Regions from separate parts of the Homo sapiens genome. Here region 1 is linked to region 2. Evidence: promoter capture Hi-C in human tissues and cell types (Jung and others, 2019). All regions are on one chromosome and are shown on one strand. Each heading gives the region's core, a stretch centred on a gene start or on the middle of the fragment in contact. The rest is flanking DNA. Distances are from core to core; before and after follow the strand shown. Region 1 overlaps MS4A15 (membrane spanning 4-domains A15). Region 2 holds the start of MS4A18 (membrane spanning 4-domains A18).

Region 1 (6,669 bases), core at 2,359-4,858, 49 kb before region 2:
TGTGGAGTGGGGATATGAAGGCATGTTTGTTTGAACCGAGATGGGGACAGAGTAAGTGTAAGGATTACACCACACAGAGCGAGGCACCCAGAGGTGCCCTTTTGTGACAGTGGGATAGTTACCCAGGTCCTCTGATAAACATGGGATGACCCTTGGAAGCCCCTGAGGTTAAAAAGAAAAAGTCATTGCAACAAGACCAGCTCAAAATTTAAGCCACATGGTTTATTTCCTTCTGTGGTGTGGATGAGACAAGCCATCTCATCTACCAGGCCTGGTGAACACCAGGCTGACAGTGTCTCCTTGTCCCCTGGAGACGAAGCCCAGGTCCTGTGGTAACCTTCTGTGGTAGCCTTGTCCTTGGGCTATGGGGGTGGGGAAGGGAGTGCTGAGAGGCACAGGGAGGTCCCAAACTGCCACTGCTGTGCCCCTGTCGATGCTGACTGTGGTGGTGCCTCAGGAGTGGGCTGGCGGCAGCTCTCCCCTGCAACCTCCCCTCCATTGGGAGATGGTAGGGGGTGGGGGGCGGGGCCAATGCTGACTTCATATTACAGACAAGGAAAATGAGGGTTTCCAGGAAGCAGGGGGACAATGCCTGGCCTAGACCCAGGACTTCAGGGAGCCTGGGGAGCTGGAAGGGCCTGATGAACCTTATCTGGTTCAACACTCTAGTTTCCAAATAGGAAACCTGAGTTCCATGGATGTGGCAACAGATGACAAAGGACAGAGCTGATCTTGGGGCCAGGAGACCTGCGGCCAGGCCACTACCCTGCTGTGAGGCCTTGGCCTGGTATCGGCACCTCTGTGGAATGCCAGAGTCAGACTCTTCCATTCTGGAGGATTCCGGGCTCTCTGACCTTCCCGAGGCCCGAGGGTCAGGGCAGGCCTCGAACCTGAGTCTCCAATGAGGCCAGGATTTCCCCAATGAGCAGAGAAATGCTTAGATGCACAAGGTGGGTGTCCTGGAAGGGTGACAGGGCTCAGGGAGCTGAAGGACACACACCCCTGACGTCAGCCCGGTGTCTTTTAGAAAGAAAGCACTGGGGAAAGTGTGGGAGAGATGTCCCTGGGGACACTTCACTCAGATGCCGGAGTATGTGTAGATGTGGTGAGGGAGGGCAGCTGGGATGGGGCTGGCCCCTGATGAACAAGGTGGGGGTGGGGAGAGGCTGGGCCCAGAGGGAAAAGGCTGGACTCCACCCGCAGGTGCCACATCTGCTACTCAGACGACTCCTTGGGCATATGCCACATTGTCATAGGCAGGGGGCGCAGAGGCTGCCGGGCTGGGGATGTTGAAGTCTGCGCTGAAGGCGTTTGGCAGGAAGATCACAGGCTGCAAAGAAAACAGCACTGAGCGTCCTGGAGGACGCTGGAGCTTCAGGGTAGTGGTTCAATAGTGCCCCCTTGTGGGTAATCTGAGAACAGCGCCCTGGTACTGAATTCCGCAAGTCTGAATCGCATGCTCAGGGCTCTCCGTGCAACCAATATTTCAAACAACATTTACTGGGGCCAGCTATGATCCAGGCATTGGGAGTACAGCAGTGAACAAAACAGACAAAAGTCCCATTTCTCCAGGCGCTAACGTTCTGCTGTTCTTTTTTTTCTTTTCTTTTTTTTTTTGAGACAGAGTTTTGCTCTTGTTGCCCAGGCTGGAGTGCAATGGCGTGATCTCGGCTCACTGCAACCTCCGCCTCTTGGGTTCAAGCTATTCTCCTGCCTCAGCCTCCCGAGTAGCTGGGATTATAGGCGCCTGCCACCATGCCCAGGTAATTTTTTGTATTTTTAGTAGAGACGGGGTTTCATCATGTTGGCCAGGCTGGTCTTGAACTCCTGACCTCAGATGATCTGCCCGCCTCGGCCTCCCAAAGTGCCGGGGTTACAGGCATGAGCCACCACGTCCGGCTCTGCTGTTCTTTCTCTCCCGACTGCCCTGGCCTGGTTCAGGACTTCGCTCTCTCTTGCCTGCACCGTGGCACCAGCCTCCTTGCAGCTTCCTGGCCTCGAGCCCCGCTTGTCCACCCTCTCCACCTTCCGGCACTGGACAAATCCTCTTGACTGATTTCCCTCAACCAGCTCACTCCCCTGCTCAGACCTTCAATCCCCTCACCCTCAATGCATCCCATCGTGCACCTGCCAAGGGCACCCCACCCTGTGGCCTGCATTTGCCTGCCCGAGGCAGCCTTTGCTCCAACTGGTTCCCCTGCCTTGAACACTCCCTCCAGCCCCTTTCTGTCATCACTGTCCTCCATTTTTTTTGGAAATCAAAGCTTAATTTCCATCTCTATCATGCTGCCCTCCCTGATGCCCCTGTCTCCCATGTGGCCTGGGAACTCCAAAAAGTCTCACTCCTCTGGGTGCAGCACTGCCCCCATGCCCTGAGCCTGGGCCTTCTATTCTGCAAGGCTGCCTGTGGGGCTGCACAGAGCAGTGGCCCTGTGGGTGCTGGTGCACCCAGTGCCACGGGGAGAGCAGTCCTGTCTTCACTGACCTGCGAAGACGTCTTTGGTTTTGTTTTGGTTTTAGAGACAGCCTTCCTCTGTCACCCAGGCTGAAGGGCAGTGGTGTGATCATAGCTCACTGCAGCCTCAACCTCCTGGGCTCAAGCGATCCTCCTGCCTCAGCCTCCCAACTAGCTAGGAGTACAGGCACGTACCATCACACATGGCTAATTAAAAATACATTTTTTTTTGTAGCGATAGGATCTTTTTATGTTGCCCAGGCTTGTCTCAAACTCCAGGGCTCAAGAGATCCTCCCATCTCATTTTTCAAAGTGCTGGGGTTATGGGTGTGAGTCACCATGCCCAGCCCAAAGACTTCTTTGGGCCCCCTGACATGGATGGGACACCCTTCCTAGCGCTGTCTCTTCTTATTGCTTCCCAGAGTGCAGAGGGAGGGGTCTGGAGGCAGAGCGCGCTCCCAGCCAACTGCCTTCCACACAGGCTCAGCTCAGGTTTAGTGGACGTGGGGGTGGGGGTGGGGGTACTCACTGCACTGGCCTGGGCATGGATGGCTTGGCACCCGAAGTGCATGGCAATGACCGCTGTGAAGAACTCCAGGACAGTGAAGATAGTAAGCACGGCCAGATAGCCCCTGTCCACATCCTGGGGACCAAAACCCACAGAAAGGTGAGCCCAGAGTTCTAGAGTAAGGGGGTCCCCCGAGTGAGAACCACTTGCCCAAGGTCATGCGGCTAGTTGGGAGCAGAGCTGTGCCTGGAGCCAGTCCCCCTGCCGCCAGTCCTGCACCCTCCCCTTCACCCTGCAGGCTGCCTCCTTGCTCCTTCTGATGCCTATCTTGGGGAAGGCTCAGAGGATCCATGGATTCATGGGGTCTATAGGGACTGGCAGGCCCTGCCAACGTCCTGGCGCTGCAAACTCTCACCTCCCTACCCTCCTGGACATGGCTGCATCATTTTCCAAGTTTTCCCACCCCGAGGGCCATCTGACAACGCACCCGGTTGGTAACACCAAAATCCATGAGCAGAATGGCTGTCCCAGCAAAGGCCGCCATGACGCTGAGGATGTTGGTGCCCAGGCTGCTCCTCACCTGCAGAGAGCAGAGAGACAGGAGCAGAGGGAATAGGCAAAGAGAAGGAGAAAAGGCAGGGGCTGTGGCTCAGCTGCCCAGCCCCCAGCACGCTGCCTCCCACAGCCAAGGAGGCAGTGGCCACACCACCCTGCACACAGCTGTGTTCTCATTGACTGCTCCCCTTTTCTCTTCTCCTCCCCTGGGACCTCGGGAGGAGGTCTTGTTGTCTCTCTTTCCTTCTCTCGTCTTCTTGGAAGCTGCTAGGGAGAAGGGCACCACCTCCTTTACAGCCTTTCTGGGTGGAGTTTGCAGCCTCCAGCTTACCCCGTACTGTGGCTCCCTCTCCCCCAGGCCCAGCACCTCGCAGGAGAAGCTGCAGCTGAGGCCTGCTCAGGGGCATGGGTTGGGGGAGGCTCTTTGCTGTGGACACTGAGGCCTGGTTGGGAGAGGGGTTGAGTTCATTTCTATGAGGTTCCAGGAAGTGGCTGGCGGAGTGAGGCACTGCAGACACTGGTGGGGCACCAGGCAGGGGAGACAGGAGAGGCAGGAGCTGAAGGTCTGAAGTCTGGGTGGGCTGAGAGGCCTAGGACTCCAGGGTCTAAAGAGCGTGCAGGGCAAGTGACTCCTGGGGTGGTCCAGGCAGCCACCCAGGGGTCACCATCCCCGTGCAGCCCGAACCTGACGGTCTCGTGACCCGTAGCTGGAGCCTTCTGGTTAAACTGCCCCAAGGGGAAACATTCATGGGTGGGCTGGGGACTCTAGGACCTCTTCAGGTTTAAAGACCCCTGATTCTTCTTTTTAAATGGCAATCAGGAGGTCATTGAGATCAGAACAGCCTCACAAGAAATCCATTAATTGATTAAGCCAAAAGCTTTTATTGAGCACCTACTGCATGCCAGGCACTATGCAAAGTGCTGTGAGTCCAGGAGAGAGTAAGTCAGGTCTTGTCCTCCTGGAGCTCACAGCCCGGGGGACACTGGGTTTGGTCCGGAGAGTCCTCGCTTCTAGTCCTGCCCCTCCACAACCCATTCTCTGCCCAGCACCTGGGATACCTCTCAAGTATGGAAACAGGGCAAGGAATTCCCTGCTGAAGCCTCTGTGGTCTCTCATTGTCCTTAAAACAAATCCTGAACTTGGCATTTAGGCTCTGAGTCACCTCCCCGGCCTCTCCCTCTCGGCCCACCCCTTGCCTGTGATGGTCCAGCACTCTGGTCCCCTGTCCAGCCATGGCGTTTCCCGACCGGGCTCTTCCGTGGTTGTTGCCCTCTGAACTGTGAAGACTCGGTTCCGTGATACCTGCTCAGGGACTCCAGACCGTCCCAGCTGAGCTTAGAATGACTCATATTATCCTGCCTGCTTCCTTTCAGCACTTCTCATGCTTGGCAACCATCTTTGTTAGTTTGCTTTACGGGTGTCTACAAGGCACCAGAAGATAAATGCCATGACCTTCACTGCTATGTTCATGACCTTCGCTGCCGTGTTCATGATCTTCATTGCCGTGTTCTCTGAGCCTGACATAAAGCTCATACCCTCCTGTTCAAAGCCTCCATCGCCTCCCAGTGCCTGCAGAAGGCACCAAGCCCTCCACAATCCAGCCCCATCATGGGATTAAATCTCTCTGTCTGATTTCTTTCCACTTTCCTTCTCCTACCTTTGCCTTCGTTGGATGGAGCCAGGCGTGGTTTCAGTGGCGACCCTGCCCACACTCCTCCGTGCATTCTCCAGCTTTCCCTGTGGTATTTCTAAGTCCTCTCTGCTCACCAAGGCCCAGCAGGACTCTTACAGGAGATCTTCTAGCATCTTTCCTTTCTCGGAATGACCATGAGCATGGACCTCACTTTCCACCCTGGCTTGTGTATTGAAAGAGTATCCCTGTCTTCTTCTCCTGGACATGCACAGTCTGCGTCTGGTCTGCCTGGGTGGTGCCCCTCCCCTGGCACTTTGCAGGTCCCCTGAAGTGCTGGGGAATGAGCTGAAGGAGTGAGTGGATGGGAGGGGCAGGGTAGAGTGAGATTTAGCTGTGGCTTCATCCCCGCCCCTGGGTCCCCCTGTTCACACTCACCAGGCAACTGGTGTGGTTCTTCTCGGCTGCCACTGAGAGGGATCCGGAGATGATGAACTGTATGGGGAGAGGGGACCAGGTGAGGCCTCAGCCAGGACCCTGGGCAGGGCAGACCCTGCTTGGGATCTGTCAAGAGGTGCCAGGGAGAGACAACAGCCTCCTGATGCCACTTTCTCTGCCAGGCAGGCACCTTGGGGTCTCTCGGCAGGGGTGTCCCCTGTCCAGAGAACTAGGGCTGTGGCTTACAAGGTGAGTGTTTTCATTGACGTCATATCATCAGGGCCTCATGGGGAAGGCATTGTTCCTTCAAACATTCACTCATCAAACATTTACTGAGTGAGGCTGAACTGAGTGAGCTCATGCCTGTAATCCCAGAAGTTTGGGAGGCCGAGGTGGGAGGATCTCTTGAAGTCAAGAGTTCAAGACCAGCCTGGCCAACATGGTGAAACTCCAGTCTCTACTAAAAATACAAAAATGAGCTGGGCAGAGTGGCGTGCACCTGTAATCCCACCTACTCGGGAGGCTAAGGAGCAAGGATCACTTGAACCTGGGAGGCGGAGGTTGCAGTGAGCCAAGATAGTGCCACTGCACTCCAGCCTGGGGGACAGAGTGAGACTCTGTCTCAAAACAAAAAACAGAAAAACCAAATATTTTCTGAGTGGCAGTTATGTGCCAGGAACATAACAGAGTTGAATAAGGCAGACCAGATCTCTGCCCTCAAGGAGCTTTTTTTTTTTTATTTTATTTTCTAAGATGGAGTCTTGCTCTGTCACACAGGCTGGAGTGCAGTGGCATGATCTCGGCTCACTGCAACCTCCGCCTCCCGGGTTCAAGTGATTCTCCTGCCCCAGCCTCCCAAGTAGCTGGGACTACAGACGCCCGCCACCACACCCAGCTAATTTTGGTATTTTTAGGAGAGACGGGGTTTCACCATATTGGTCAGGCTGGTCTTGAACTCCTGACCTCGTGATCCACCTGACTTGGCCTCCCAAAGTGCTGGGATTACAGTCATCAGCCACCGTGCCCGGCCGGAACTTATATTCTAATTGGGGAAGACTGACACTTAGCAAACAGTGAAGAAA
Region 2 (6,782 bases), core at 476-2,975:
TGCAGAAATGCCCTACACTTCTCCTTTGTGGTTTCACTTCTTTTTCCTTGGATCCCAACAGTTCAAAATATTGGTTATATAAAGCTTCAGAAAATTCCCAGCTTTTTCCTTATTTTAAAATCTAGCTGGTCTCTGAGGCCCCTTTCCATGCTACTCTTCCATAGGAAAAACAACTGTCACTGGTCTGACACCTGATGGCTAAGGCATTCACCCCTGTCTTCTCACTCATTTTGATCCGACCCGCCTCTTTGCAAAGTAGGGAGACCAAGGCTCTGAAAGTGGAATAACTTGTCTACAATTATGCAACCCACAGGAATAGATCTGAGACTCAAATTTATTTTTTTCTGACTGCTATTTGCATTTCACTATGTTTTCATTTCCCAGAAGAAATGTTCTACCAGTGACATATGGATGGTGGAACATTCAGCTGCATGAATGGAGGCTGTGCAGGCAGTGTGAGCCACTTCTGCATTAGACCTTGACATTCCTTGCTTTCTTGAAGAATAACAGATTTCCCAGGAGAGTGGTTTAGAATAACAACTACAGCATCCTTGGATGTTGATGCCTCATAACCCTGTAGATATAAGGCAGTTCCCCCAGCAATATATTATTGTTATGACCATTTCTCGGGCAAACTCTCTGAGGCTCAGAGAGGTTAAGTGCCTTGACCATAGTCACACAGCTAGGAAATGCTGAAGTTGAGATTTGAAATACAAGAATTGATAGTCTGCCTGCCTTCAATTTTCATAATGAATACTGTGCTAAATGTTATACTCTGCTTCATGATATTAAAAAATTAATCATTTCTCTCTTCCTTTTTTTCAGAGGACTCCTTCTTTAATGTGTGAAAAACAATACAGCCGTAGACCTGACAATTGGCACAAACAGTTGGGCCCTATGAGGGATGTTCCTGGGACCCCTGAGATTCTACCTCCCGTCAGGAAAATGTCAGGAACAAAGAGAATGGTTCTGCCTGTAATCCCAGCACTTTGGGAGGCCAAGGCGGGCAGATCACGAGGTCAGGAGATCGAGACCATCCTGGTTAACACGGTGAAACCCTGTCTCTACTAAAAAATACAAAAAATTAGCCGGGCGTGGTGGCGGGCGCCTGTAGTCCCAGCTACTCTGGAAGCTGAGGCAGGAGAATGGCCTGAAACCGGGAGGTGGAACTTGCAGTGAGCCGAGATCGCGCCACTGCACTCCAGCCTGGGTGACAGAGCGAGACTCCGTCTCAAAAAGAAGAAGAAGAAAAAAAAGAGTGGTTCCATCAGAAGCCATTCCACCAGTTCTAGATTGAGGTCCTAAGTAGACCTGATCACAGTGTGCCTACAGCTGGGCTTAGGGAGCAAGGCAGCCAGAAAATGCCTAGCAGAGTCTCCAGCCTTCTATCTTAAGATTGCTGTGTCCATGCAGAGACAGGAGCTCAATTTGAGAACCTGTTGTGACTCTTCAGTTACTTCCCAGCCTCCCAGCACCTCCAAGGATGGGTGGCTGCACGCCTGTCTTGCTGGAGGGCACTACCCTATGTCTGAACCCCTGATTCCTTGTGGTTCTCAAGAGACACTTCCGAGGGACCGCCTAGGTCCACGTCTCTGCTGGTGCTATCCAGGCTCTGTCAGAGTCTTGCGGAAGAATTCACAGAAGTCTTACCTTGTGCTCCTGGGAAGTCTTTGGATGCTCTTTCTTCAGGCTCTGTGGGTTTCTGCAGCCTGATCTAGAAATTCTGGTGCTAGCTGATGGATTGGCACTATTTAATGTTAATCATCTAGAAAATAAACTCAAATTAGGTTTCCCTTTCAAGCTCCAAAGTCCTCTTTGCAGTTTCATTTGGAGTCAATACGTCTATTCTCTGGCATCCACGCTGTTTATTTGCCCCTCAGAGTATTTATGGCCTTGGCTAAAGTAGGATTCCATGGGATCTCCTTCCAAAGTTTCTCTTTGAGAAAGTGAGAAATCCAGAAGTGGGTCAAGATTTTCTGAGCCAATAGATTTCCCTTATAAGCAATTAGTGAGCATTTATTGAGTGTCTGGTGTGTGCTAGGTGGTATGCTAGGATACGAGGTGCTCTAGAATTTGCAAGGAGTTGACGAGACAGAATATAACCACTGTTGGGATAACTCTAGTGCAAGTATGGATAGGAACAAACAAATATTCAGTCAGACCATCAGGGATGATGTGGCTGGGAGATGTGTCAAAGGGATGGGCTGGTCCTAGGAGGTTTGTCGAGTGGCTGGACATGGAATTGGACATCTAACTCAAGTTGGACATTGAAAGAAAGACTGGATCAAAGCTGCACTGAAGGCACAGTGTATTCCAGAAGAGTGTGAACCAGAGGTGTGGGAGCATGTCCAGATTCACCCCATCCTCCAACGCTCATCCTGAAGCCTCTTCCTCCACAAAGCCTTCCCTGAACTTTACAGTCAAACTAAATCTCTTTGGAACCCACATGCCCCAAATGTGAGCTGCCTGTGATGTTTGTGTGTGTGTGTGTCTCCAATTTTTCCAGCCTTATAGAATCACCCTTTCCTTTAGTTTACATGAACTGGCTAAAGCCGCCATCCTATATATAGTAGCTCCATTCCCAATAAGTTGGAGGATTTCTTCATGTAGATTACGCTTTACATAGTCAATTTCCTTGCTCAATTTCCTATACACTCCTGATCTCCCTCACATCTCCCCTTTTACGGCTGTTTGTCCACCCCACATGAACTCAGTCCTGGAACACATCTCCTGCTGTGGGTTGAAATGGAACCCTCCAAAAAGATATACTGAAGTCTTAACCCCTCATCTAGTATCTCAGAATGTGACTTTATTCGGAGATAGTTTCATGGCAAAAGTAATTAGGTTAAAAGGGGCCCTAATTTACTATGACTGGTGTTTTTGTAAAAAGGGGATATTGCACAGACTTGCACACAGGAAGAAGCCTGCATGAACATGAAGGCAGACTCTGGAGTGATGCATCTATAGGCCAAGGAGTGGCCAAGATGCCCACGGACCACCAGAAGCCTGCAGGGAGGTCTGGAATGGAGTCCTTCACAGCCCCAGAAGGAGCCCACCCTGCTGACACCTTGATCTCAGACTTCCAGTCTCCAGATCTGTGAGACGATACGTTGAATTAACAAGCCACCCAGTTTGTAGTCCTTTGTTATGGCAGCACTAGAAAACTCTCCCTTCCTTGATTTTCCTACAGCTTTACTCACACAAAGTGGTTCTGTGTAGCGGAATTTTACTAAAGTGTAGGGGGTGGGAAAGATGCCAATGCCCCAAAACAGAGCAATGAACTAAACATCAAGTGCTGGATGTCTCTGATCTTAGTCCCTTGCTCGTTCCTGTCACAGAGAACTTCAGCTGGGCCCTTTCTTCTCCAGGACCCTGGCCTTCCTCCATGCTTCTAGGCCCCATCCTCTTCCTCTCCACTCTTTCCTTTTCTTCCCATCCTAGAGCCTCGTCCTCCGGCCCCTGCAGAGCTGCCCTCAGAATTTCCAGATGCTTCCTGCAATATTGTGCAGAACAATTCTCTGTTTTACCCTCCCCAACCTGGTCATTTCTTGGGATGGGAGGAGGGCTTCATTTCCCATACCCCAAAAGAGCCAAAAACAGTTATTTCCTAAGGAAACCTGCCGCCACTTGAAAAAAATAAGTGCTTTGTCCCTTGACAGCATCCTACTCCAAACTCTCATACCTTTTTTTTTTTGAGAAGGAGCTTCATTCGCCCTCATTCACCCTCATGTCACCCAGGCTGGAGTGCAGTGGCACAATCTCGGTTCACTGCAACCTCCGCCTTCTGGGTTCAAACGATTCTCCTGCCTGAGCCTCCCAGGTAGCTGGGATTACAGGTTAGCTGGGATTACAGGTGGCTGCCACCACACCAGACCCATTTTTTACTTTTGGTAGAGACCAGGTTTCACCATGTCGGCCAGACTGACCTAAGACTATCCACCTGCCTTGGCCTCCCAAAGTGCTGGGATTACAGGCTCCCATAGCGTTTTGTCGGAACCTCTCCTGCATCCTTGCCCCACTGTTATCCGAGTATGTGTGTATCCTTCCTTATGAGCTTCTGAGCTCCTAAGGGGTGGGATGTGGTTCTTACCTGCAGAGGCAGGTGCTTGGCATTTGATGAATGAGTGAATGGATGCCTGAATTTGGTGAGTTCAAGGTAGGAGCCATTGACAGAGAGGCTGGACAACTGGGATTTGGACATTGTGGGAAGAGGGATTGAAGGGCAGCTGAACAGGGTCTTGAATGCCATGGTCAGGAATTTATTCTGTGGATGCTAGGAACCCTTGCAGGGCTTTGAGGAGGAGAATAACAGCATAAACTCTGGTCTCAGGACCCACACTCTTTGGTCTCAGGAGTCCTTTGCATTTTTAAAAGTTATTAAGTACTCTCGAAGAACACTTGTTTATGTGGGTTAAATTTGTTGATATTTATACCATATTAGAAATTAAAATGGAGATACTTAAAAATGATTTACTAATCTATTTTAAAATAAAATATTTATTACATATTAACATAAATATTTTTAAATAAAAAATAATTCTATTTTCCAAAATGAAAAAAAATTAGTGGGAAGAGTGGTATTGTTTTATAGGTTCATAGGAGAGGAGAAATACCTTTTCTTCAACCATCACTACATTTATGGCCAAGGGCCTTTTGACAAAAGACAGATTAACAAGAGAAAAGCATACACATTTATTTAATATAAGTTTTGCTTGATGTGATGGTCTTCATAAGGAAATAAAGACCTGAAGAAACAGATAAACTTGTGTACTTTTTATGCTAGGTTTGATGAGGACGTGAATAATTGTGAAGTATGATTAAATAAAAAACCATGACTTAATGGTAATAAACTGGGATGAAATTAGCAAGGCCTATTTGTTTAATATCATTTTGTAACCACATTTATTCAGAGATAAGGATGTTCCTTTCCTCTCGGTGTAGGGAGGGCACTTTTCTTTTCTACTTTTTTTTTTTTTTTTTGTCTTTGAGCTCCCATTCTGTCATCTAGGCTGTAATGTAGTGATACAATCATAGCTCACTGCAGCCTCGAACTCCTGGCCTCAGGTGATCCTCCTGCCTCAGCCTCCCAAAGGGTTGGGAGGGTACCTTTCGAATTAGGGTCTTATGAGTTGCTTCAGGGAAGAAGTGGTAGGGAAAGGTGAGCATGACTTTCCTGTTTCTGCTGTTTTCACCGTTGCTAGGACACTACATTTTGTGGCTGTGTGACCTGAACCATATCAGGTATGTATACCTCTTTCCTGTTTGGATTACTGGAAGAGAGCTAGATTTTCACATCTGCTTATATATTGTCTGTTTTGATATGTTGTTTTGGTTGAAGTATATGAAGAAAATCAGATCGGTAGTTAGAAAAGTGAGTATTTTAATAGCCTTTTCAGATAATTACTGGTAGTCTTCTTTCTTAGCCCTCAACATTAATGCCACTTTGGGCTAGACAATTCTTTGATGAAGGGGCTGTCCTGTGCATTGTAGGATGTTCAGCATTATCCTTGGCTTCTACCCACTAGATGCCAATAGCACCCTTTCCCTCAACTCCAGTTGTGGCAACAAAAAATACATCCAGACGTTACCAAATTCACCTCTTCCCGCTTCTTAAGAACCCCTGATACACCGAACTCAAGTGTTAGTTCCCGAAAGGTTACTTGCAGTGTGGAATCTGAAGCTGTATCAATAAGCTTTTTGTACTCTGTGCTATAGACTGAACGTTTTTGTCATCCTAAAATTCCTATGTTAAAACCTAGTCCTCAATGTAATGATATTTGGAGGTGGGTTTTTTGGGAGGTGATTACGTCATGAGGGGCTCATGAATAAGATTAGTGGCTTTATATAATAAAAGACTCCAGAGAGCTCCCTTGGCCCCTCTGCCATGTGAGGACATAGTGAGAGCACTGCTGTCTACGAACCAGGAAGCAGCCCCTCACCAGACACCAAATCTGCTGGTACTTTGGTCTTGGGCTTCCCAGCCTCCAGAACTGTGAGAGATACATTTTGCAGTGGCAAAAGAGCATGGGATTTGGAGTGAGGAGACATGAATTAAGACCCAGCTCTATCATTTACTAGCAGTGCAGACTTGGGCAAATTACTTAACCTCTCTGAGCCCCAGATTTTTCATATTTCTCTTTCCTAAAGCATAGATAATGCCACTCTGTATTTTTGCAATACAAAATGAGATCATGCAGCTGAAAGGTGTTAAAGCAAACTAAATATGGCCTGAGAAGGACTCTGTACTTCTATATTTGAGTCCTTGTGGATGAACTGTAACCTAGCTTAATAGTCAGACAAAATCGAAAACCTAACTTAATAGTATGCATCAGTAACAATAGCTGAGCATTGGCCAATCCCAGCGGCCATACTTCAACCATTCATAGACCACTGACTATTCAAGCTGCCTTCAACTAAGGCAAATGCGGAGCTATAACCAATCTCACTGTTTCTGTACCTCACTTCCAATTCCAGTACATTGTGTTTCCTTTTTGTGTATAAATTTGTTCTGAACACGAGGCACTCATGGAGTCTCTGAGAATCTGCTGTGATTCTGGGGGCTTCCCGATTTGTGAATTGTTCATTGCTCAGTTAAACTCCTTTAAATTTAATTCGGCTGAGGTTTTTCTTTTATCAAAGGGCATTGAACAGAATAAGTTGTCAGACATTAAAGACTCAATAAATGTTAATTACTTCCATTTTCATAAGATTGTGTTCATTTGACAGACATTTATTGAGCACTACCAGTCCCGTGGCCAGCACGCTGGCAGTGTTCAGTAGTG

Evidence for each region. Contacts are between HindIII fragments. The study calls those that stand out against the background at their distance.
Region 1: a fragment that was not itself captured here is called in contact with the fragment with the promoter of MS4A18 in region 2 in 2 of the 25 tissues and cell types used here (liver and thymus).

Annotation. Positions count from the first base shown.
Region 1 is chr11:60,770,266-60,776,934 of GRCh38, reverse strand. It overlaps MS4A15 (membrane spanning 4-domains A15), which reads right to left. Exons shown (of 7, transcript NM_001098835.2): 4 at 5,588-5,644; 5 at 3,451-3,543; 6 at 2,985-3,098; 7 at 202-1,330. The coding sequence ends at 1,220. Among named protein-coding and RNA genes, the nearest start is that of MS4A10, 12 kb to the left of the region's middle. RefSeq lists enhancers at 604-1,233, 1,234-1,863, 1,864-2,495 and a silencer at 1,378-1,497. The HindIII fragment of the contact is 4,967 bases long and covers 1,125-6,091 here.
Region 2 is chr11:60,719,663-60,726,444 of GRCh38, reverse strand. MS4A18 (membrane spanning 4-domains A18) reads right to left here and starts at 1,725. Exons shown (of 7, transcript NM_001354471.3): 1 at 1,651-1,725. The HindIII fragment of the contact is 14,477 bases long and covers 1-2,889 here.